Linked DNA regions of Homo sapiens: regions 1, 2 and 4 are each linked to region 3. Evidence: promoter capture Hi-C in 16 types of primary human blood cells and fetal thymus (Javierre and others, 2016). All regions are on one chromosome and are shown on one strand. The core of a region is centred on a gene start or on the middle of the fragment in contact, and the rest is flanking DNA. Distances in the headings are between cores, read along the strand shown. Region 1 holds the start of PPP1R15B (protein phosphatase 1 regulatory subunit 15B). Region 2 holds the start of ADIPOR1 (adiponectin receptor 1). Region 3 holds the start of ZBED6 (zinc finger BED-type containing 6). Region 4 holds the start of PIK3C2B (phosphatidylinositol-4-phosphate 3-kinase catalytic subunit type 2 beta).

Region 1 (2,700 bases), core at 98-2,597, 620 kb before region 3:
AATAGGAGAACCCTGAAATATCTGTCAGGCTGGGCGCAGTGGCTCACGCCTGTAACCCCAGCACTTTAGGAGGCCGAGGCGGGCAGATCACTTGAGCTGAGTTTGAAACCAACCTGGGCAACACGACGAAACCCTGTCTCTATAAAAATATGCAAAAATTGGCCGAGCACGGTGGCTCACGCCTGTAATCCCAGCACTTTGGGAGGCTGAGGCGGGCGGATCACAAGGTCAGGAGATCGAGACCATCCTAGCCAACATGGTGAAACCCTGTCTCTACTAAAAATACAAAAAATTAACTGGGCGTGGTGGCACACGCCTGTAGTACCAGCTACTAGGGAGGCTGGGGCAGGAGAATCGCTTGAACCCGGGAGGCGGAGGTTGCAGTGAGCCGAGATTGCGCCACTGCACTCCAGCCTGGCGACAGAGTGGGAATCCGTCTCAAAAAAAAAAAAAATTTAGCTGGGCGTGGTGGTGCGAGCCTGTAGTCCCAGCTCCTCGGGAGGCTGAGGTGGGAGGCTCACTGGAGCCCAGGAGGTTGAGGCTGCAGTGAGCCGAGATCGCACTACTGCACTCCAGCCTGGGCGACAGAGCTAGACCCTGTCTCAAATAAATAAATAATAAAAATCTAAGACTACGATAACCCTACAGTTGGCCCGCGGGGCATTCAACCTTCCATGGATTGAAAATATTCGGGAAAAATAAAGATAATAAAACATAATACAAATAAATACAGTATAACAACTAGTTCCATAGCACTTGCATTGTATTAGGTATTATACTTAATCTAGGGGATGGTTTAAATATCTGGGAAGGTGTATGCAGGTTATATGCAAACACTATACCATTTTACATAAGGGACTTGACCGTCTGCGGATTCTGGTGTCTACGGGGTCCTGGAACTAATCCCCATTTCATGAGAGGGGATGACTGTACACACGTCAGTGTGTATTAGGCCATCAAAACGCCTCCGGGAAATTCTCGGGTTATTTTGAAAACCCCTCCCCTCCCCAAGACCTTTAACCTAGAGGGCTGTTGGGGCGGTCTCCTAGGAGACCACACAGAAACGACTGCGCATGCGTGCATTCCCCCCCCCCCCCCCCCCCCCCCCCCCGCCCCGGCTGATGCAACCTCACGCTGCCGTGCGGCTCTACCTCGAGTAAGGAAGCCGACAGGGAAATCTGGCAAAACCAATCGGCGGCCACACGGAAGTGGGCGGAAAGGCCCGCCCCCCGGGGATTTTGCGAGTGACGTTGGGCGGCGCGGCGCTAGGGACGTAGACGCCCAACAGTCCTGCGTCTCTTCCGGCGTCTAGGGGGGTGTCCTGCCGGCGCGCGGGCCCTGCGGCCATTTTGGGCTTCGCTTCCACCGCACCAGCCGGCCTACCCAGTCCTTCCGGTATCGCGTTGCTCAGGGGCTTTTCAACCCTCTGTCAGTCGGAAAACCATCGCCGAGGCCGTGGGGGGACTCCTATCCATGGTGTTGAAGCGTCGAGCCGACTAGGGAACCTCCTTCCCCGCCAGGATGGAAGTCGCATCAGTCGCCGCCTATTGCGCGGGCTGTTCTTCCCTGTGTTCTGCCGCCCGCTGCCGCATTCGCTGCCCTCTGTGGCTTTTCTGCTGGCTCGAAGATCGGCCTGGAGCAGCGACGCCACCGCTGGGCAAGGCCGAGACTCTGTAGGCTTCCTCCGAATCCCGTCGACCTCCAGCCGCTGAGCGCCGCGGCCCTACCTGAGAGACTGTCAAGAAAAAGGAGATGGAGCCGGGGACAGGCGGATCGCGGAAACGGCTTGGCCCTCGGGCGGGCTTCCGGTTCTGGCCACCCTTTTTCCCTCGGCGATCGCAAGCAGGCTCTTCTAAGTTCCCGACGCCTCTTGGCCCGGAAAACTCCGGGAACCCCACACTGCTTTCCTCTGCCCAGCCCGAGACTCGGGTCAGTTACTGGACGAAACTGCTCTCCCAGCTCCTTGCGCCGCTCCCCGGATTGCTTCAGAAGGTGCTAATTTGGAGCCAACTTTTCGGTGGAATGTTTCCGACCAGATGGCTAGATTTTGCTGGAGTCTACAGCGCCCTGAGAGCCCTGAAGGGACGGGAGAAACCAGCCGCCCCCACAGCGCAGAAATCTTTGAGTTCGCTGCAGCTCGACTCCTCAGACCCCTCGGTCACCAGTCCCCTTGATTGGCTAGAGGAGGGGATCCACTGGCAATACTCGCCCCCAGACCTAAAATTGGAGCTTAAGGCCAAGGGAAGTGCTTTGGACCCTGCAGCACAGGCTTTTCTCTTAGAGCAGCAGCTGTGGGGAGTGGAGCTGTTGCCCAGTAGCCTTCAATCCCGTCTGTACTCTAACCGGGAACTTGGCTCTTCGCCCTCTGGGCCTCTAAACATTCAACGCATAGACAATTTCAGTGTGGTATCCTATTTGCTGAACCCTTCCTACCTGGACTGCTTTCCTAGGCTAGAAGTCAGCTATCAGAACAGTGATGGAAATAGCGAGGTAGTCGGCTTCCAGACACTAACCCCAGAGAGCAGCTGCCTGAGAGAGGACCATTGTCATCCCCAGCCGCTGAGTGCAGAACTCATTCCGGCCTCGTGGCAGGGATGTCCACCTCTTTCTACGGAAGGCCTACCAGAAATTCACCATCTTCGCATGAAACGGCTGGAATTCCTTCAACAGGCTAGCAAGGGGCAAGATTTACCCACCCCT
Region 2 (2,700 bases), core at 149-2,648, 840 kb after region 3:
TATACAAATGGCAACACGGTAATAGCTAACATTTATAAAGCACTTACCATTGGCTAGGCCTCATAATAAGAGCCTGCATGAATTATCTCACTCAATCCTGACAAAGACCCAATGAAATAGTATTATTTTATTCCCACTTTTCAGATGAGGTAATTATCATTTGGAGGGGTTCAGTAATGTGCTCAAGATCATAGACTGGCCTGGGACAGAAGCTTGGCTCTATGTGACTCCAGAGCCCATGCTTTTAACTAGGACCAAGAGAATTAACCCCACGTCCCTGAAGCACCTATATCAGATTACAATGAGTCACTTTCTCTGCCTCTAGAATGGCACTAGTTGCACAGTGAGCTATGATATGATTGCACCACTGCATTCCAGCCTAGGTGACAGTAAGAACCTGTCCCTAAAAAAGAAAAATTAAAAATTTTTTTGAGTTAACAGCCATATTGAGGTACTGTGCCAAGTACTCTATCTACATCAGATAGTTTAATCCTTATGATAATCCTGTGAGTTAAAGGTTTGCTCACAAGAGGAAGATTGACATTGCTTTTCTGCTTTTCAGCAACTGTGTATTGCTGTATCTGGGGCTCCAGAGCATGGGGCTCTAGAGTCACATAGAGCCAAGCTTCTGTCCCTGGCCAGTCTGTGACCTTGAGCATATTAGTGAACCCCTCCAAATGATAGTTACCTCATCTGAAAAGTGGGAATAAAATAATACTATTTCATTCTTGGGAGAAATGAGAAAATGGCCAGACCCTGAAATCCCCTTCTGTGTTGTGTGGTTCAGACAAGGGCTGCACTACCCTATGTTGTCTCGCGATCTGCACTCTAGGTGCCTGTGGGAGCAGGAACTGGGGCACGGGTTCACCAGCAAGAGTAGTTAGAAACAATTCTGCTCTCTGATAAGAAAATAACAGGAGGCAGACTGAGGTCTAGCCCAGGGCCTGGCACATGGTAGGGGCTCAATAAATAGTTTGTGGAAGGGAAGGAAGGACCATGCGGTTGAAGAAGAGATTAAGAAGTGTTTCAGAGGTGAAACGACTAGCCTTGGGGACAGAGGAGATGAGATAAGGTGTATGGTAGAAAATTCAGCATTCCCTCCCGACGTTCTGTCTCATTCTCTGAAATTTCTTCTCCATCACGCACTTCAGGCTGCGATAACGAGGTGGAGTGTAGAATCCGACGAACGTCCTCTACCCCGGGGCGGGTGGAGGTTACCTGGCTGCGGCGGGGAGGTGGGCAGGCGGCAGGGAAGGCGGGGCAGCAGGGCGGGGCCCGGGGCGGGAGGTGTGGCCGGCGGGCGCGGGCCTGTGATTGGGACTCCGCGAGAGGGCCTAGGATTGGAGGGCCCAGGCAGAGCCCGCGAGGAGGTGACGCGGCTGCGGAGGTGACGCGGGAGGTCGCGCGCCCCTTCCGGCGCGGGGAGGGCGCTGAAGATCGGGGCCGCTCGGCCGCAGGCCGCCTCCAGCGCCGCGGGATGTAGCGCGGGGGACCGCGGCCCCCAGCAGAGCCCGCCTGCCCGGCTGTAAGTCTCCCAGGGGCTGCGCGGTGGGCAGGGACTCGGCGGGAGCGCGGGGACCCCGGGGGCCCCGACCCAGGCCTGCGGAGGAGACAGCTGTTGGGGGAACCCGCTCCGACTTGCCAGGGGGCTCGGGCCCCAGCCAAGGAGCCGCCTGGCCTCCAGGCATCCAGCCGGTCAGGTTGTAAACATTTCCGGCCCCTCCCACTGCGCGCCGCCTCCGAGGCGGCCTAGGTGCGGTGGGCGCTCGTCCCCGGCTGTCCCCCGACTCCCGGCAGTCCTGTGAGTGCTGCGCCTTTAGCCCCACGGGGTGGAGATGCATGGGTTCCCCAGATCGGGACCAGAGAGCCAGAGTTAAGCCTGGCCCCGAGGCCGCCGCGCGTGGGGAGGGAGGGCTGCGGGCCTAGGTCGCGAACCGCCTCTCAGCGGGGAACAGCCGCATTGGGTTGCCAGGAAGCCCTAAGGTTCCTCCACCAACAATCTTTGGCAGGTCAAGTCCTGACAGTGCCCTCACTTTGATGGGGTGGGAAGGGAGGTTGGTGATCGCTCTGCAGGGTTAAGGTAATCCTGAAGGCTGAAATGCGGGGCAGAATCGAAGGTACTTTGGGGGAAAATGAAATTTCATTACCTTAGGTATCTAGGATTGATGTATTCTATCTTCTGTTTGAGAATTTTGGTCTTCAAGCCTTCGATTTTTAAGAAAATAGATAAGTGTTTTTTTTCCCTCAGTTTCTGGTGCTCTTTGGGAGAATGGGAAACTGACAAGGCCAATTTCAGTTTACACCGTTTCAGATGTCAAAGGAGCGCTAGGAGGCCATGGTACTTTACTAGATTAACCATAGTACTTCCCTCAAGTGATTCAGAAGACGGGCTAGAAAATACAGCGGAGAATACATAGGCTGCCATCTACAAAACAAATGATTGTAATGGCTGGTTCTTTTCTGAAATGAAGTAATAGTGGGGTCGGTTCACTGCTTTTCTCTTTTCCTAGTAGTTGGGTAGGCTACGATGGTGCAACTTCGGTTCCTGAGGTTGTATACTATCTGTATACTGCCAGGAATTTAGGGTGGTGCTAAACAGATTGCAATGTCAGGGTACCGGCTTGCAGCTACTAAATGTATTTACTCCAGGAATAACTTTTATGTACCCATATTGTGATTTGCACTTGGGAAATCAGTCAT
Region 3 (2,700 bases), core at 123-2,622:
CATTTAGGACTGTGATTTGCCAATACAACCCAAAAAGTCAATTCTGGAAAGCCAACACAGACTCCGCATACTGGTCACAGCAAATGCTAGTTGAGCCCTTTCAGTTCTAACTAAAAGTAATACAACCTTTTAAAATGTGAGTGGCTGGAAAAAAATGCTTTGAGAAAAAAATTTTAAAACAAGGTTAAATGCTGCATTTTCAAAGTACTGTTTGTATTAAGAGTTAATTCAAGTTTAGTTTTCAGATATTTTTAGACTTGAGAAGCTTTTACAGCCTGTAAGTAACTCACAAGTTGTACGCTATAGAGATAGCAAAAAGTGAAATATGAACTTTAAACCACTTCCATTTTTCGATTGATCCCTCCCCTTCCCCCAATACCTACATACATTTACCCTAAAAAGCATCGCTATCTCTAGTTCCACAGCCTCTTTCTCAAGGTCCAGAACCAAGGCCTGGAAGATGTCAACAATATAGGCCTTCCCCATAGGAATCCGCACCGATTATGGGAGTTTAGGGGTGTTCTTCATTACGGTTTCACCAGTCCTACAAGGAGAACGGAAGTGTCCCTGTTGCTCTTGACTCCGACGCTGAGGGCCAGGGGTGGGAGTGTAATGAGAGTGGGGAATGGGTGTAGGATACCGGAATAAGGTCGGTGGCTTTCTGTATGTGGAGTTTGAGACAAGCTCCAAAGTACCGGGACCCTGGAGAGGAATGAGAGTAGGTAAATTCAGCGCCCGGCACTCAGTCTGATTGATTTAGGCAGTGAGGGTCCGCTCAACTAGAGAAACTGTTGCCCCGAAGAAAGCAATCTAGTGTCAGTTCTCTCTTCGGGATTCGGGGGAACAGTCGGTTTTCGGGGCTGCTCCGGGCTCCTCGAGATTAGCGAACACCGGATGTGGGGGAGGGGAGGAAGGTTGGCTGGGAAAGGAGCAGGCGCCGTGGGGGTGGGGTGAACGGGGTGGGGGTGGGGAGGATGGGAAAAGTGAGCGGGAGCCTGGGGCTCCCAGCCAGCCCCGGCGAGGGCCGCGACCGGGAGGTGGGGGGGAGGGGTCGTTACGGCGAAGCTGAAGGATCCGCTCTGACTTCCCGGGATAGGCCGCGACCCAGGGGCGAGGGGAGGCCGCTGCCACTCCCCTCGCCCTCTCCCCCACCTCCCCGGCCCCAAGCCACCCGGGAATCAAAAAAACGGGTCTAGTTACCAGAGAACAGAAACTTTACCGAACCGATGACACTATCCCCGACTCCCGCTTGCTGCCACGTCTTTCTTCTTGCTTGGCCGCTGCCGTCCGTCGTCCTCCCAGCAGCAGCAGCACTAGCAGAAAACCAAGACTGCCAGCGTCAAAGATGGCGCCTGGCTACAGGCTCCGCTCTAAGGCCCGGCCGGTAAAAGTGCCAGCACGACGCAGGGCGCGAGGATTCTGGAAGATGTAGTTCCTCTATGAGGCGATGCCTAAGATGGCTGCTCCGGGTCACAGGGTCACGTGACGGGGGAGGCGCTGGGTCGGGGAGTCCCTTCCCTTCAGAGGAATGCCTCGAAGCCGGCTTTCATAACGTTTTGTTTTTGTTTTTAAATCAAATGAGGTAATAAGCGGGAGGGCCGCAGGAACTGAGACTGCCATTCAGTAAGCGCTCAATTTATTCTTACCAAAGTGTTTGCTTAATGAGTAAATCTCCCAAACCATGTATACATTTAATTTAGAAATAAACTGTACTTTTCCTAAGCATGCAATGTAGAATGATTTGTTAGTTTATTTTTTACTTGAAGAAGTGAGATTGGGCTTTGGGGGGGTGTTTCTTTGATTTCTTAAAGCAAATTTGTGTATTGGAAAAGTAATTCATGCTCGTGACAAAATTCAGGAGAGTTAGTTGGAGGTCGCAATCAGCAGTCTCATCCCTGCTTCATTATTAACATTGTCCCTTATTTTCCCTTTTGAATGTTTTTACTTTTTCCCCCGGTTATAAAAGTAATACACGTGGCCGGTGCGGTGGCTCACGACTGTAATTCCAGCACTTTGGGAGGCCTCGGCAGGCGGATCACAAGGTCAAGAGATCGAGACCATCCTGGTCAACATGGTGAAACCTCATCTTTACCAAAAATACAAAAATTAGCTAGGCGTGGTGGCACGCGCCTGTAGTCCCAACTACTCGAGAGGCTGAGGCAGGAGAATCGCTTGAATCTGGGAGGCAGAGGTTGCATTGAGCTGACATCGCACCACTGCACTCCAACCTGGCGACAGAGTAAGACTCCATCTCAAAAAAAAAAAAAAAAAAAAAAAGTAAAAAACTTAATACACGTAAGTTTTTTTAGAAACAATACAGAAATATAGAGAGTAGAAAGTTAAAATCTCTATTAATCTCATTCTTGAGAAATAGCTCTCATTAACTTACCATATATCCTTTCTGGCTTTTACACTGAAAATATACTTAAATATATTACACATATAATAGGAGCCCAAGGTCCCCCTGGGGTAGTGGCTCAGCAGAACTCTAATTAGGTGGCAACATTTTACCTAACTTGGGTAAAGGATATAGTTGTGCTACTAAGAAAGGAAACACTTGATGATAAAGCAGATGGGACTTCAGGCACCTTTTATTTCCTCGTGTGCTTGTTCTTCCAGCTGCCGGGTTGGTGATGTGCGAGTCCCAGGCAGCCCAAGACTAGGAATTTATCAGAGCAGAGGGGTCCTGAGCCTCCTCAT
Region 4 (2,700 bases), core at 39-2,538, 700 kb before region 3:
TGACCTGATGACAGACACAGAGTAAGCTGTCATAAATATTTGTATGGTGAAGAAGTGCACGGACACGTTTTTTAACCCCTGTGGCTCCTGAGATCAGGAGTAGCATCATATACATTATGACATATGTGCAGACCAAGCTGCCTTCAGTTAATTATCAAGATGTTTCACCTACATTCTCTCCTTTGATCATTACGAAAGCGTGATAGGTGAGGACGCTATTCTTGATATTCAGAGGGTGAAGTGGAATACTGAAAGTCACAAGCATTGGGTACAGAAGGCACTGTAGGATCAGAAAGGGGAGTGATCCCTTTCCTCCCCATCATAAGAGTCACAGCCGACACTTCTATAACAAAAGACAAGTTAACCAGAGAAAAGCATAACAAATTTATTTAATCATGGTTTTACTTGAGAGGCTGAGGACCAGGTGTTAATCTTCATAGTCTGTCGAGAAAGAAAGAAGAAATGAGGGCAGTGGAGGAAAACACGATTCACGTTTTTAGGAAAATATACTTTGAGATTAGTGATCGTTGGTACTATGCAAACCAAATGCAAACGAGGAGCTGGCCAACTCATGGTTTCTTTTGGGTGGAGCCTTTAGGAAAATTCTTCCAGAGACCACTGCTGGAAGAAAGGTATTTAGAGTAGAAAATTTAAATATAACATATTGTATGAAAGGTTTTTTTTTTTTACTTTTTTTTCTCACTACCCTAGTTGGGTTGGAGGATCCTCTATCTCCCCTCCCTACTTAGGTTGACTGCTGTTTCCTGGATCGCAGCTCGGAAGATCCACCTGGGCGAATACAAAAACAAACGAGACTCCCCTTCCAGAAAGGGAGGAAGGAAGGAGACAGAAAGACGAATGACACTGAGCGTGTAAAGCCCGGAGACAGCCTCTCTCTACCCCAACCTAACCCTCAAGGTAGGGGATCCCCCGAACATCGCTACCGTAATTATGGTAGAAATTCCTGAAACGGATAACTGGACCTCAGCACCGTCATTTCTAGCAGAATGATTGAGCTTTCCTCTGACCCAAAGCCAAGGGGTTCCAGCAGGGGAAACTAACGACCATCCGCAAAAACCCTCACCCAAGTGGGGAGTGGAAATCCTGGCTCTTGGGTTGCAGAGCACAACTTGACGCCAGCGCGTTTCTCTTCCCCCACGCAATGGCAAGTGGGGCGGGAGTCGGAGGGGAGAGGAGGAGAGGAGAAGAGAAGAGGAGGGGGAAGGGGAGGGGAGAGGCGAAGGGCGGCCCGGGTTCCAGCAGCCGCCCCGCCCTCCGGCTCGCGGCGGATTCGGCGCTGCGGCTGGAGCCGGCGGCCGGGTGCCTGCCTGTCCAGGCAGGGTCTGGCCGAGCGTCGCGTCGCCGTGCAGTGCGCCGGGTGTCCGGGAGATGGCTTCCCCTCTCTCGCCCGCTGCTGCCGCTATTGTCTCACCCGGGGTGGCCTGACTCTGCGAGCTCGCGCACGCTCTCGGCGGAGAGCACCCCTCCCCACCCCCACAAGCTGGTCCTTGCGCCCTTTGCTGCCTCTCCCTCTGCCCCTTGGAGCCTAGGGTCTGTGCGGAGCCTGGAGAGGGGAGCGGCCCGGGAGCAGGCGGCGTGCGGCCGGCCAGCTCCTCTCGCGCTGGTGCAAGAGGCGCCTGGAGCCGCAGAGCGAGCCCGGGAGGCGCGGAGCGAGCAGCCCACGTCGCCAGGCACAAGACACGTCGGATGTTGCAGCAGAGCCAGCAGCTAGCGCAGGTAGGACACGCATCCTGCGGGTTGCATCGGCCCCAGCGTCTGTAAAGTGCCCCCAGAGTGGAGGCAGCCGAGGTCAGGGGGCTCTCCCTCCAACATGGCAACAGCGGAGGTGCAACAATGGAAGCAGCCGAGGGTTCCTGGCGGCGGGCTGAGCGGCGGACGCCGTGGGAGCCTGAGCTCCTGCCCGCCGGGCAGAGCAGGTTGCCCCTCACCCCACTCCACTCCACTCCAGCAGCTTCAGGGCCTCTGGGGCTCCAGGCACCCGCGTCCCCACCCCCTTCTCGCTAAACACACTTCCTGGCTCCCAGCTGCAGGGCGATCTGAACCAGTCAATGGCTTTGGGGTTTGTTTATTTAAGATAAGAAATAAAAAAAGCAAAACCTGTCCTGTGATGGGGTTAGTGCCTTCTGTGGACTGGGTGAGAAGTCGGCATCTAGCCTGGGGAATGTGTACGTTTCTTAGTCGGGCGGAGGGTAGAATTGGATTCTCCCTTATAAGGATACTGCAGCAAAAGGAGACTGAAAGCTTGAAAGAGGGAGAGGGACCCTCAGGCCTGAGTTCGCCGGTGCTGGGAGAAGGCGCTGCTCTCCTGGCCTATACTTGTCCCTCATTTTCAGCTCCCGACAGCGGTGACTTTGATGTTGGAGGAGCAATCGCAGCAGGAAGCACAAGCAAGGCTGCCAAGCTGGTGTGGGGTGGAGTAGGGTGGGGAGCCCAGGGGCTTGGCAGGCTTCTGGATTGTGGGAAGAGGTTACCAAATGTATGAGGTTAGTGCACACACCCTAGTTGGCTGATGTTGAAGTGTGTGTGTGTGTGTGTGTGTGTGTGTGTTTTCTGCCATTGCTCTTGCTCCTTCAGGCCTGCCTTTTCTCCTCTCCACCCGCTTCTGGGGTCTTCGTAGCTTCCCTGCCCCAGCCCTTCCAATCATGCCTGGGATGGAATCGCTGTATTGTCTCTGGCAGC

The links. Contacts are between HindIII fragments. The CHiCAGO score rates a contact against its expected background, and 5 or more counts as called.
Region 1: the fragment with the promoter of PPP1R15B here is called in contact with the fragment with the promoter of ZBED6 in region 3 in 13 of 17 cell types (non-activated CD4 T cells, fetal thymus, activated CD4 T cells and 10 more); the score reaches 23.4 in non-activated CD4 T cells.
Region 2: a contact is called between the fragment with the promoter of ADIPOR1 here and the fragment with the promoter of ZBED6 in region 3, in 6 of 17 cell types (naive B cells, naive CD4 T cells, non-activated CD4 T cells and 3 more). The highest score is 11.0, in naive B cells.
Region 4: the fragment with the promoter of PIK3C2B here is called in contact with the fragment with the promoter of ZBED6 in region 3 in 5 of 17 cell types (monocytes, fetal thymus, naive CD8 T cells and 2 more); the score reaches 9.4 in monocytes.

Annotation. Positions count from the first base shown.
Region 1 is chr1:204,410,464-204,413,163 of GRCh38, reverse strand. It overlaps PPP1R15B (protein phosphatase 1 regulatory subunit 15B), which reads left to right and starts at 1,347. Exons shown (of 2, transcript NM_032833.5): 1 at 1,347-2,700. The coding sequence starts at 1,753. RefSeq lists enhancers at 1,060-1,109, 1,120-1,819, 2,080-2,229, 1,536-2,370 and a silencer at 1,155-1,601. The HindIII fragment of the contact is 5,217 bases long and covers 1-2,700 here.
Region 2 is chr1:202,957,010-202,959,709 of GRCh38, reverse strand. It overlaps ADIPOR1 (adiponectin receptor 1), which reads left to right and starts at 1,398. Exons shown (of 8, transcript NM_015999.6): 1 at 1,398-1,525. RefSeq lists silencers at 820-869, 1,170-1,729. The HindIII fragment of the contact is 2,157 bases long and covers 628-2,700 here.
Region 3 is chr1:203,794,295-203,796,994 of GRCh38, reverse strand. It overlaps ZBED6 (zinc finger BED-type containing 6), which reads right to left and starts at 1,372. Exons shown (of 17, transcript NM_001395895.1): 1 at 1-1,372. ZC3H11A (zinc finger CCCH-type containing 11A) reads right to left here and starts at 1,372. Exons shown (of 18, transcript NM_001376342.1): 1 at 1,201-1,372. RefSeq lists an enhancer at 1,252-1,671. The HindIII fragment of the contact is 5,182 bases long and covers 268-2,700 here.
Region 4 is chr1:204,493,393-204,496,092 of GRCh38, reverse strand. It overlaps PIK3C2B (phosphatidylinositol-4-phosphate 3-kinase catalytic subunit type 2 beta), which reads left to right and starts at 1,288. Exons shown (of 33, transcript NM_001377334.1): 1 at 1,288-1,737. It overlaps LOC124904584 (translation initiation factor IF-2), which reads right to left. Exons shown (of 2, transcript XM_047439554.1): 2 at 361-1,917. The coding sequence ends at 897. RefSeq lists a silencer at 1,139-1,608 and enhancers at 1,709-1,838, 1,909-2,098. The HindIII fragment of the contact is 4,413 bases long and covers 1-2,264 here.